Linked DNA regions of Homo sapiens: region 2 is linked to region 1. Evidence: promoter capture Hi-C in human tissues and cell types (Jung and others, 2019). All regions are on one chromosome and are shown on one strand. The core of a region is centred on a gene start or on the middle of the fragment in contact, and the rest is flanking DNA. Distances in the headings are between cores, read along the strand shown.

The links. Contacts are between HindIII fragments. The study calls those that stand out against the background at their distance.
Region 2: a fragment that was not itself captured here is called in contact with the fragment with the promoter of SPDYE4 in region 1 in 2 of the 25 tissues and cell types used here (lymphoblastoid cells and small bowel).

What each region holds. Positions count from the first base shown.
Region 1 is chr17:8,756,606-8,763,029 of GRCh38, reverse strand. SPDYE4 (speedy/RINGO cell cycle regulator family member E4) reads left to right here and starts at 4,484. Exons shown (of 7, transcript NM_001394956.1): 1 at 4,484-4,756; 2 at 5,538-5,768. The coding sequence starts at 4,648. The HindIII fragment of the contact is 5,925 bases long and covers 1,975-6,424 here.
Region 2 is chr17:8,923,684-8,929,566 of GRCh38, reverse strand. All of the region lies in intron 1 of PIK3R5 (phosphoinositide-3-kinase regulatory subunit 5), which reads left to right. Among named protein-coding and RNA genes, the nearest start is that of PIK3R5, 39 kb to the left of the region's middle. The HindIII fragment of the contact is 6,135 bases long and covers 830-5,883 here.

The DNA.
Region 1 (6,424 bases), core at 3,235-5,734:
CCATGGATTGCTGCATTGATTGCCTTCCCTGTCACTTGCTGCATCCAATGACGGTCCAATCAATCCATTCAAAAGTATTAGGATGAATAGAAGTGAGCATCAAAAATATAGGATTACATTCGAGAACACAGAAAGGTCTTCTATAAATCAATAAAAATGCAAAGCAACTTGATTTTTAAAATATGCATCAAATGTGAATAAGATACCGAAGAAAAAATGGCTGTATACAGATGTATAAGTTCACCTATCAGACTGGCAAAAGTTTAAGAGATTGATAACATACTATATTGGTGAGTGTCTTAGTCAGTCTGGGCTGCTCTAACAAATTACCATAGACTGGGAATCTTAAACATTTCTTTCTCACAGTTCTGGAGGCTGGGAAGTCCAAGATCAGGGTGCCTGGAGAGGCAGTGTCTGCTGAAGTTCAGCTTGCTGGTTTGCAGATGGCTGTCATCCTATTGCTCCCTCACATGGCAGACAGCAAAGAGAGAGAAAGCAAGCTCTTTCTTTTCTAAGAGAGAGGGCACTAAACCCATCGTGAGGACACCACCCTTAGGAGCTAATTACCTCCCAAAGGCTGAATATCCAAGTACCATTACGTTGGAGATTACGGTTTGATATGGTTTTTCTGTGTTCCCATTCTAATCTCAACTTGAATTGTATCTCACAAAATTCCCACATGTCATGGGAGGGACCCAGGGGGAGGTAACTGAGTCGTGGGGGCCGGTCTTTCCCATGCTATTCTCCTGATAGTGAATAAGTCTCAGGAGATCTGAAGGGTTTATCAGGGGTTTCCGCTTTTGCTTCCCTTTCATTTTCTCTTGCCGCCGCCACGTAAGAAGTGCCTTTCACCTCCTGCCATGATTCTGAAACCTCCCCAGGCATGTGGAACTGTGGGTCCAATTTAAACCTCTTTCTCTTCCTAGTCTTGGGTATGTGTTTATCAGCAGCGTGAAAACGGACTAATATAGGGTTTCAACATATGAATTTTGGGGGCACAGATTCAGTTCACAGCACTGAGGAGCAGGGAAATGAAGACTCTACATTTTGGGTTGGAATTTAAACTTGTGAATTAGACTGGTAAAGTCTTCAGAGGCTCAGATATGATGTGTGAGCCTTGTGACTTCTGAGGATGAAGGCTGTGTTCTGGCAGCTCTCTCACCAGTGGCAAAAAACAGAAAAGTATCCTTTCCATTGGATATCCTGCTACAGAATGAATTTTCACATTGAACATTTAATTTCCCATTTAAATAAATCCACCTGGAATTTGATTTGTATATGTCTGTTTTCCAAATAATGAGCTAGTTGTGATCGCATGATTTGTGGCTTAATCTCTACTTTCCCCACTGGGATATGCCATGACAGCATTTAATGCATTCCTATAGAAACTTGGGTTTATTCTGAACTTTCTATTCTCTTGATTGTATCAAGGATCATAAACTGGGACCCTGTAACCCGTTTCAGGCCTCCAGATCCAGATTTGTGTTTGGTCTTGTTTTGGTTTTGGTCAGAAGTGTCTTTGAAAATTGTGGATTTTCATGCCTTTAGGCAGCTCACAAAGTCAGGGCTATCTTAGAGCAAGATACTTGCCCAAGCTCTTAGAGCACTTGAGGATTTTGCCGGAGTGACACTAGCAACATGCTGTTTTAACACTTTCACCTTAGAACACATTTTGGTGTCTGGCAGTGGACATTCCCTCTCATTCTTCTTTTGTGATGGTTCCTTAAGTACTCAATTCTCTAGATAAACTTTTACATTGTTCTGTCAACATCTGCGGGGGGAAAAACTCTTTGAGATTCTGATTGCAATCGCATTAAATTCCTAAATTCATTTGGATTGAATGTACAGTTTTACCATATTGAAACATCATTTAGACATTTTGTAAGTCTCTATTCAGTTCTTTTATATTCTCAGTGAAAATTTTTAGTGTTTCTTCTTTTAATTGAGATGCAGTCTCACTCTGTCACCCAGGCTTGAGTGCAGTGGCGTTAACTCGCCTCACTGCAGCCTTCGCCTCCCAGGCTCAAATGATCCTCCCACTTCAACCTCCTGAGTAGCTGGCAGTACAGGCATGCGCCACCACACCCAGGCTAGTTTTTTATACTTTGGTGGAGACAGGGTTTCGCCAAGTTGCCCAGGCTGGTCTTGCACTGCTGCGCTCAAGCAATCCTCCTGCCTTGGCCTCCCAAAGTGCTGGAATTACAGTTGTGAGCCAATGTTAGGGGGCTTGTCGACCAGCATACAGGGGCCTTGGAGGCTGCTTCAAAAGTTCCCACTAAGCCAAGGATACAAAGCCTGGTGACAGCCCTCCCATGTGAGGCCCAGGTCTTACTTACCTCGCTCAAAAAATCTTTCCTGCTCATTTCATTCGAGAGTGATTTTGCTTTCTTTGGGATCTCTATTGCGCTGCCCCACCCAGAGAGTTCCAAATCTGAATGGACTCCAATGATGAAGTTAAATCAGCCCCCACCTCAGTCCTTTGGAATTAGAATCTGTGGGGCTGGGTCCTGGCATCTGTATCTTAATGTTCCTAGTTGAGATCCTTAGGCTGAAAGGCTGGTATTTGCAAAGCACTTCTTCTCCTCCAAACTCAGCCTCCGAACTAGCTGGGACTACAGGTGTGTGCCACCACACCAGGCTAATTTTAAATTTTTTTGGAGAGACGGAGTCTCACAACGTTACTCAGACTCATCTCCAACTCCTGGGTTCAAGTGATTCTCCAGCCTTGGCCTCCCAAAGTGTAGGGATGACAGGCAGGAGCCACCATGCCAGCCAATAAAGCCCTTCTGTTTCACTCTAATGATATCTTTGGTGCATAGCTACAGCCATTGTTGTATTAACCTGCATCACTGAAGGAAAAGAGAAGGGGAGAAGTGATAGTTTTGCTTTTCCCTGAACATATCAGATGAAACCTGAACTGTTTAGCTCATTTTTGGACAATGTATTGACATAATTTAAGATGGCTGCCTTATTGTAGCCTGTCTACAGAAGGTGCCTAGAAGACAGAGGAATATGTAAAACTGGCTTGAAGAGTGATTAATCAGAACTTTACGTGGTACAGAAGAGAAATTTTAATGGCAACAGAATATTGATCTTCTAATGTTTGAAAGCCTATTAAATAGGAGAGAAAGATGATTTTCTGTTTTGTTGTAAAAGGATCCAACCAGTTCTGATGGTTGAAAGCATCGTGAATGCGAAGGTCCACTCAATGTAAGCAGAGTTTCCTAACAATTGGACTTCCACAGCGACGGGATCTGCCTCCTCATTCAGTTGTGCCTTTCCCATCAGCGAGAGACTCCTAGGAGCCCATTAGGAAGCTGTGCCAGAACTCACAGGTTCTTTGGATGGTATCTGAGATAGTATCCAGCTCTTACATTTTTATTTTTTCCGAAAAAAATATTTTTGAGACTGAGTCTCACTCTGTCCTCCAGGCTGGTGTGCAGTGGTGCAATCATAGCTCACTGCAGCCTCAAACACTTGGGCTGAAGCAATCCTCCTGCCTCAGCCTCCCAAGTACTGGGACCACAGGTGTGTGCCACGATTCCTGATTACTTTGTTTATATTTTGTAGAGATGACGTTTTGCTATGTTGCCCAGACTAATCTTGAACTCCTAACCTCAAGTGACGCCCTGCCTTGGCCTCCCAAAGGAGGGAGATTATGAGCAGGAGCCCCTGGGCCTGGCTGAGATTTTCCCCTTAGTCTTTTTATACACAGGATATTTTATTCATAAAATACATAAATAGTAGGCAAATTTTGGGGTCAAGTGAAATAGATATGTTGTAATAGTTGATATATAGACCAGAGTTCCTTAGCTGAACTGGAGGGCAGGCTTTAGGTGATCCATGGATGCCCTGAACTTGTGGACACCATTGAAAATCTGTACGAAACCATGGACAGTCTCCTGTGATTTTCATTCCTCAAAATGTCTCTTGGACTCAAAGATGCCTGAGAGCAAAGGATGCATGTTCCCCTACTATAGGATCCAGGATAGTGAATATCAGTAAACATTCAGCAAAAAAGCTTTGCCACATTGAGTACTTCGACGTAACGTCTCCATTCAACAAGTCAATTTACCCAGGATCTCCTGTATATGTTAATCTCACTCTTGGAAGGACTCATCATTCTGCTTACCCTAAATTTCCTTCCACCTTCCTCCCTCTCTCACCAGACTAGACTCTGAAATGGGAAGGAGAAGCGGGGAGGAGAGCCCAACACCCCCTCAAGTTTAGAGTGGAGAGGACACAGCCTCTGCTGGGACAGGGAAAAGAGGAATGTGGAGACCCTGAGGATGCTTTTGGACAATGCTCAGAGGTTGGGACATTGCCAGGAGATACCGTTCACCCCGGATCTCCAAGAAAAGAGATCAGTCTGGCAGTTACATGTGTTTTTCTTCAAAGTAGTTGCCAGTTTGGAATGACCGATGACATCAGAGATTCCGACTTTCCTGATTGGAAGGACCGGACTCTGGTTGCTTGGGAGTTCAGGTGGACAACAGCAACTTCTCAGAACTACTCTTCACTCCTAACTTCTCCCGAGCCTCTAGAAGAGAAACGCACTCTTCTGGGTCCTAACGGAGTCTGGAAGAAGGCTTTGGACAGAACAGGGACTAGGTTTTGTGGACAGAAACAAAGTGTTTGGGAGAGATTATGGCCAGTGGTCAAGCGCGCCCCCCGTTTGAGGAGGAGAGCCCCCAGCCTAGCACAACGGTACGGTCCCCCGAGGTGGTGGTGGATGATGAAGTGCCAGGACCATCAGGTGAGGTGACTGGAGGGAGAAGCGATGGGAGATGATTGACTGAGGAGAGGGAAGGGGGCCAGTTACTGGGAATCTGAAGCACCTGAGTAGGGTGTGTGGGAAAGAAACGACGGACTCAGGAAGCCAGGGATCGGGGAAGGAGGGTGCAGGGAATGGGGCCAAGCATGGCCACGTGTAAAGAAAGTCTGGGGAGCAATGAAGGGGGTCAGGAGATGTGCTCAAAAGATGAGAGAGGAAGGCCGAGGCGGACGGATCACGAGGTCAGAAGATCGAGACCATCCTGGTTAACACGATGAAACCCTGTCTCTACCAAAAATACAAAAGTGAGTTGGGCATGGTGGTGCGTGCCTGTAGTCCCAGCTACTCAAGAGGCTGAGGCAGGAGAATCATTTGAACCCAGGAGGCGGAGGTTGCAGTGAACCAAGATTGTGCCACTGCACTCCGGTCTGGGCAACAAGAGGGAGACTCCATCTCAAAAAAAAAAAAAAGAGAGAGAGAGAGAGAGAGCAGACAGAGCTCAAGGGAAGGTTTCCATTTTTCTCCAATTGAAAGTTCTTATCTGTGATGAGGAAATGTTTTGAGGACAGAGAGCCGGAAGAATGGGGAGGTGAGGGAGAGGCAGATGGGGATCAGCAAAGGAGAAAGGTGGAAACATGGCTTGGAGAAGCTGACAGTCTGCGAGGCTTGGGAGGATGGAAGAGTAGTTTGAGGTTCCTGGGTCGGGGCGTCTAAGGTGATCAATGGCAGAAACATGACACCATGGCCTGGTTTCTTCACTCAGCCCCTTGGATAGATCCCAGCCCCCAGCCTCAATCCCTTGGCCTGAAAAGGAAGAGCGAATGGTCAGACGAATCCGAGGAGGAGCTGGAGGAGGAGCTGGAGTTGGAGCGCGCCCCTGAGCCCGAGGACACCTGGGTGGTGGAGACGCTGTGTGGGCTCAAGATGAAGCTGAAGCGAAAGCGAGCATCCTCCGTGCTCCCTGAGCACCACGAGGCCTTCAACAGGCTCCTTGGTAGGAGGATACCCCAAAAAGCACCTCCAACCCTGTTCTTTTAAAAAAGTGGAATCTTTCAATAATCACACTTTCCCAATAAGAAGAATATGCCCTCCTGGGGGATGAGCGCTCCATGCAGGAGGAGGATGCTTAGGAGATAGAGGATTAGGCTAGTCTTAATAAAGGTCTGCACTTGAAATAAGAAAGCTTGGTTTCTGGCCAGGTGCAGTGGCTCATGCCTGAGATCTTGGTGCTTTGGGAGGCTGAGGCGGGAGGATCTCTTGAACTCAGGAGTTTGAAGTTGCAATGAGCTATGATTGCACCACTGCACTCCAGCCTGGTTGACAAGGAAAGACCCTGTCATAAAATAAATAAAATAAAATAAAATAAAAGATAAAAGAAAGCTTGGTTTCAGCTGTACCCTCTGAAACTCTATGTCTCTTGATGACTTTTCTAAACCTAAGTGTCTCCATCCGTGGAGGGGGATAACAAGGCCATGGGCACACCCAGCTGTGACTATCTCAGGAAGCAATGATGGGAATTCTATTATGACTTCTGCAGTGGTCCCTTCCTGTCTGATGGGAGGACATCATGGCTTATTCACAGCTCTTCATCCTGTAGACTCTGACACCAGAGGCCTCCTTCGGCCTCTCCTCAGGGGAATCTCAGAGCGG
Region 2 (5,883 bases), core at 2,648-5,147, 170 kb before region 1:
TTTCTGTTCTCTCAGTTTTTGCTTCACATATCTTTTTGGTGTGAACACATTTAGGTTTGCTGTGTCTTTTAGTGAATTGACCTTATGTCATTATATAATGTCCCTCTCTGCTTCTGGTAATTCTCTTTGCTCTGAGCTCCACTTTATCTGATATTAATATAGCCATTGCTGCTTTCTTTTAATTAATGCTTGCACGATATATATTTTCCCACCCTTTTACTTTTAATTTGTCTATATATTTATATATAAAGTGAGTTTCTTGTAGACAGCAAATGGTTGGGTTATGTTTTATAATTCACTACAAATCTCTGTCTTTTAATTGGCTTATTTAGTCCATTTAAATATAATGTAATTACTGATATGTTAGGGCTCAAGTCTGCTATTTTGTTATTGGTTTTGCATTTTTTCCTATGGACTAACTGAACATTCTTTAGAATTCATTTTTTATTTTATCTGTAATGCTTTTATATATATCTATTTGTATAGCTTTTTGAATGGTCACTGCATATATTGTTACTTATCACAGTCCACTGTTATCATTTTACCAGTCCTAGTGAACTGTACCTCCCTTTATTTCCCTTTACCTGCCTCCATTTATAATATGATTGTCTTAAATATTTACTCAGCATACATTTAATGCTACATCAGACTGTGTTATTTTTTATTCAGCCATCTAAGATAACTTAGAAAACTCAAGAGGAGAAGGAAAATCTATTGTATTTACCCAGATTTTTCCCTTTCTTATTATTTCTTCCTGATGTTCCAAGATTTCTTTCTTTTATTATCCTTTTTTCTGTTTAGAGAATTTCCTTTGGCCATTCTTCTAGAGTAGGGATGCTGGTGACAAATTATTTCAGTTTTTCTCCCTCTGAGAGTATCTTGATTTCCTCTTCATTCCTGAAGGATATTTTTGCTGGATATTGGACTCTAGGCTGACAGTGCTTGTCCTTCAGCAATTAGAATATGTTATTCCACTTCCTTCTAGCATTCATAATTTTTGATGAAAAGTACACTGTCATTCAAATTATATTTCATCTAAGATAAGGTGTTGTTTCTCTCTTGATCCTTTCAAGATTTTTTCTTTGTCTTTAGTTTTCAGAATTTTGACTATGAGATGTCTTGGTGTGTATTTCTTGGCTTTATCCTGTTTATGGTTCACACAGCCTCTTAAAACTGTAGTTTTATATATTTTGCCAAATTTGACAAGTTTTATGTGATTATTTATTCAAGTACTTTTTCAGCCCTGCCTTCTTTCTCCTCTCCCAGGAGGTTCTCCTCTTCAGGTTCCACACTCAGCCTCCATTGCCAAGTTTTAAGTGATTATTTCTTCAAGTAGTTTTTCAGCCCGGCCTTCTTTCTCCTCTCCCACTGGTACTCCAATCACATGAATGTTAGACCTTTTGTCTGACATTACTAAGGGGTAGAGTGGGAGTTCCAGCTACCTATTAGGTTTTGTCTTTGTTTGTGCTGCTATAAAGGATACCCAAGGCTGAGTCATTTATAAATAAAAGAGGTTTATTTGGCTCACAGTTCCGCAGGCTGTACAAGAAGCATGGCATCAACATCTGCATCTGGTGAGAGCCTCAAGCCACATGCAGTCATGGTGGAAGGTTAAAAGGAGCTGGTGTGAAGAAATCACATGGTGGGAAACTGGGTGCAGGGGGAAGGTGCCAGGCTCTCAGGGGAACTAAGCTGGTTCCCAACCAGTTCTCAGGAATGAAGAGTGAGTACTCACTCACTCCCATGAGAATGACACCAAGCCATTCAGAGAGATTGGCTCCAACCATCCAAAGACCTCTCACCAGGCACCACCTCCAACACTGGAGATCAGATTTCAACATGAGACTTGGTGGGACCAAAAAAAAACATATCTAAGTTCTAACAGGCCTCCACTGATACGTCTCTGGCTAGAAACGGTAGGAGTGCCTCCTTACAGCTACAATGCCACCACAGCAGAGGGGATGACCTCATTACTTCTGGGCAGTGGTAAAAGTCTTGACTCCCTGCTAGGCTTCCTCTGACATCATCTTATCATGGAGGTGTCTCTTTACTGTCTGGTGGGGGTGGAAGTCCAGGCTCCTCACTGGTGTCCACTAACACTGTGGAGTGGGAGGGGGCTAATTACCGCTAATGGAGATAAAAGACCTGGCTATCTACTTGGCTTCTTCAGACAGTGGCCATGGCAGGGGATTTGGGGAACCTCATTACGGCCTGGCCAGGGTGGAAGTCTAAGCCGATTAACTGGCTTTTGCTGGTGGAGGTGGCACCACAATTTTCCCTGTGGAGTTTGGCTGGAATAGAGCAGGTATTGTCTAAAAGTGTCTGTCTTGCTAAGTTGCCTCTTTCCTCAGGCTTTGGCTAGAGAGAGCAGGCTTTTGTGAGGGCTTTATTTTAAATCTGCACCCATTTTTTCAGATTGCTGGCTGTTCAGCTCCAAGTCTGGAATCTATAAGGCAAAAAGAGAAGCCAGGGAACTCACCCATGCCATTCCTTGTCCCCAGGGTCCCTAGCCTGTGTGCCTTCTCTCTCTCTTTCAGGGTCTCTTATGTTAGTTTTATATATATTGTTCAGGGCTTGTAGTTGTATTTCAAATGGAATAGGGAAAAGCATATCTACTCCACTTACCCAGCACCATTTTTTAATTTATATATATATAACCTCTGTTATCTATGTGATAAAAAACAAGGCATAAAATATATATTATGAAAAATGTTTAATAAAAAATAAAAATTATTCCTATTTTTACCTCCCAGATATAATTTCTGTTAGCATTTGGACGTGTAACCATGTTGGGTAGTGACATGGTTTGGCTCCGTGTCCCCACCCAAATCTCATCTCCAATTGTACTCCCATAATTCCCATGTGTTGTGGGAGGGACCTGGTGGGAGATAATCTGAATCATGGGGGCAGTTTCCCCCATACTGTTCTTGTGGTAGTGAATAAGTCTCACGTGATTTGATGGTTCTATCAGGGGTTTTACTTTTGCATCTTCCTCATTTTTCTCTGGCTGCTGCCATGTAAGACGTGCCTTTTGCCTCCTGCTATGATTCTGAGGCCTCCCTAGCCGTGTGGAACTGTAAGTCCAATTAAACCTATTTTTCTTCCCAGTCTCAGGTATGTCTTTATCAGCAGCATGAAAATGGACTAATACGGGTAGTTTTTCTTTTGACATCGATATAGACATTTTTTTTCAAACTGGAAGAACCTTAGGGTTCTTTTGGATCCTGGGGCATTTCATAAACCCAGCTCTTCTGAGCAAAGCTTCCCAAAGCAGTTGCCTCTCTGTCACTTCTCTCTCCTTAGCCCATTCCATTTGGTCTTTTCTTCCTGCACTTGTTCTTTCATGGTCACTCAAACCCTCCATGTCACCAGATCCAGTGGCCACTTCTCTGCCCTCATGCTGTAGACCTTGCAGTGGCATTCCTCACTCCCTCCTTGAAACATGCTTGTTTTGGATCCTGTCACATCGTGTTCTCCTCCTGCTCATGAGCTGCATCTTCTCAGTGTCTTTTTGTGATACTTCCGGTGCCACCTCTTAACACTGGAGGTGTTCTCCTCACTCTTCTCGCTTCACATGGTTCACAGCCTCAGTGACCACAGCACCATGTGAACTCCCAAATAGAGAGCTGTAGCCCAGACCTCTCCATTGGGGTCTGAAGGGGATAGAACTCGGACAAAGCAGGACTCTTGTTTTCCTCTCCCAAATTGTCCTCTCCCCAAACTTCTCCATCTCAGTGAATGTGATGCATCTATCTGCATTAAAGGAAAAGACAAAAGGGGATGAAGCATCCAAGGAAAAAGTGCACACCCACTTGGGGACCAAAATGTACTCAGCCATGATGCAAGCTGTACCCACTTATTATAGAGATTTTGGCCTGAACCTAAGCCTGGATTTTCTTAATCCATTTCCATCTGATTTAGACATAATGTCAATCCCTCATTCTGGCTTGTCAGTGTTGGTTTCAGTTTGGATTGTATGCATGTGTGTTCCTTTTTTCTCTATCTATCTATCTATCCATCTACTATCTATCTACTATCTATCTATCTATCCATCTACTATCTATCCATCTACTATCTATCCATCTACTATCTATCTATCATCCATCTACTATCTATCCATCTACTATCTATCTCTCCATCTACTATCTACCTATCCATCTACTATCTCTCCATCTACTATCTATCTATCTATCCATCTACTATCTATCAATCCATCTATCTATCAATCTACTGTCTATCCATCTACTATCTATCCATCTACTATCTATCTATCTATCCATCTACTATCTATCATCTACTAGCTAACCATCTATCTATCTACCCATCTACTATCTATCTATCCATCTACTATCTATCTATCTATCCATCTACTTTCTGTCTATCTATCTACCCATCTATCCATCTACTATCTAGCTATCTATTCATCTACTATCTATCTATCCATCTACTATCTATCTATCCATCTACTTTCTATCTATCCACTATCTATCTATCCATCTATCCATCTACTATCTATCTATCTATTCATCTACTATCTATCTATCTATCCATCTACTATCTAACTATCTATCTGGTATATTTGGTGAGAAGTTGGGAGAGACTGCATCAGTGCCTGATGCCCTAATGTCATAGTAAGTTGTCCATTAGAGATCTAGAGAGTTCTAGACTGGGCTAAACGGGACTCTTGACATCAGCGTTTGTTTCATAAAAAGTTGTAAAAACCACACCTGGCCAAGTATCGGGAGGAGTGTCTGATTTCAGTTCTGTCCACAAACCTGATGAGTATCTGTTTTCTTGTTAGAGAGGTTTCGCTCTAAAGCATATTCATGAATGGGATGGAGGGGGAGAATTTGAGAGATTTTTCTTGCATAATTGGGCAGGAGTTCAAAGAGAGTAAAAAGGAGACTAGTGAAGATGTGCCCGTGTCTGAGAACAATGACCTGCTGTTGGATTAATGGAGAGAAGACGGGGTGGTAAATGGTTTATCACTCTGGAAGAGAAGAAAAGCTGTGCAAGGGAAAAGATAATGGATTGGACCAGTCTACCCCAAACTTATTCTGATAGTAAAGCATCTAGAAGTCACAGTGCTCTGGAAGGAGAAAAATCTTCCTTGCCCAAAACTATGAAATATTCATATCTGTCTTACAAACTAGAAATGATTCTACCTGTAGAAAGTGAGCAGCCTGTGTCAGGCTGCAGGTGGCTCACGCCTGTAATCCCAGCACTTTGGGAGGCTGAAGCCAGCAGATTGCTTGAGCTCAGGAGTTCAAGATCAGCCTGGCAACATGGTGAAACCCCACCTCTACAAAAAAAAAAAAAAATTAGCCAGGCATTGTGACATGTGCCTGTAGTTCCAGCTACTTGAGAGGCTGAGGCAGGAGGATCGCTTGAGCCCAGGAGGTCAAGGCTGCAGTGAGGTATGATCACACCACTGCACTCCAGCCTGGGAGGCAGAGCAAGACCCTGTCTTGAAAAGGAAAGGGAAGGGAAGGGGAAGGGAGGGGAGGGGGGGAGGGGAGGGGAGGGAAGGGAAGGGAAGGCTGCAATGTCACAACTGCAATCTTTTTCCACACCCAGAAGGCTGCAGTGAGGTATGATCACACCACTGCGCTCTGGCCTGGGAGGCAGAGCAAGACCCTGTCTTGAAAAGGGAAGGGAAGGGGAGGGGAGGGGAGGGGAGGGGAGGGGAAGGGAAGGGAAGGGTGCAATGTCACAACTGCAATCTTTTTCCACATCCAGAAAAACCAGAAAGCTGCCAATATATGTGTAATTGGCCTTTCTTGAGTTTTTACATTTACATTCATTTGCTGCTTTATTCTCCTGTGCACATTGTCTAACCATTAAGATGGGCTCCATATTTAAAGGTGGTAGGATTAAACAGTC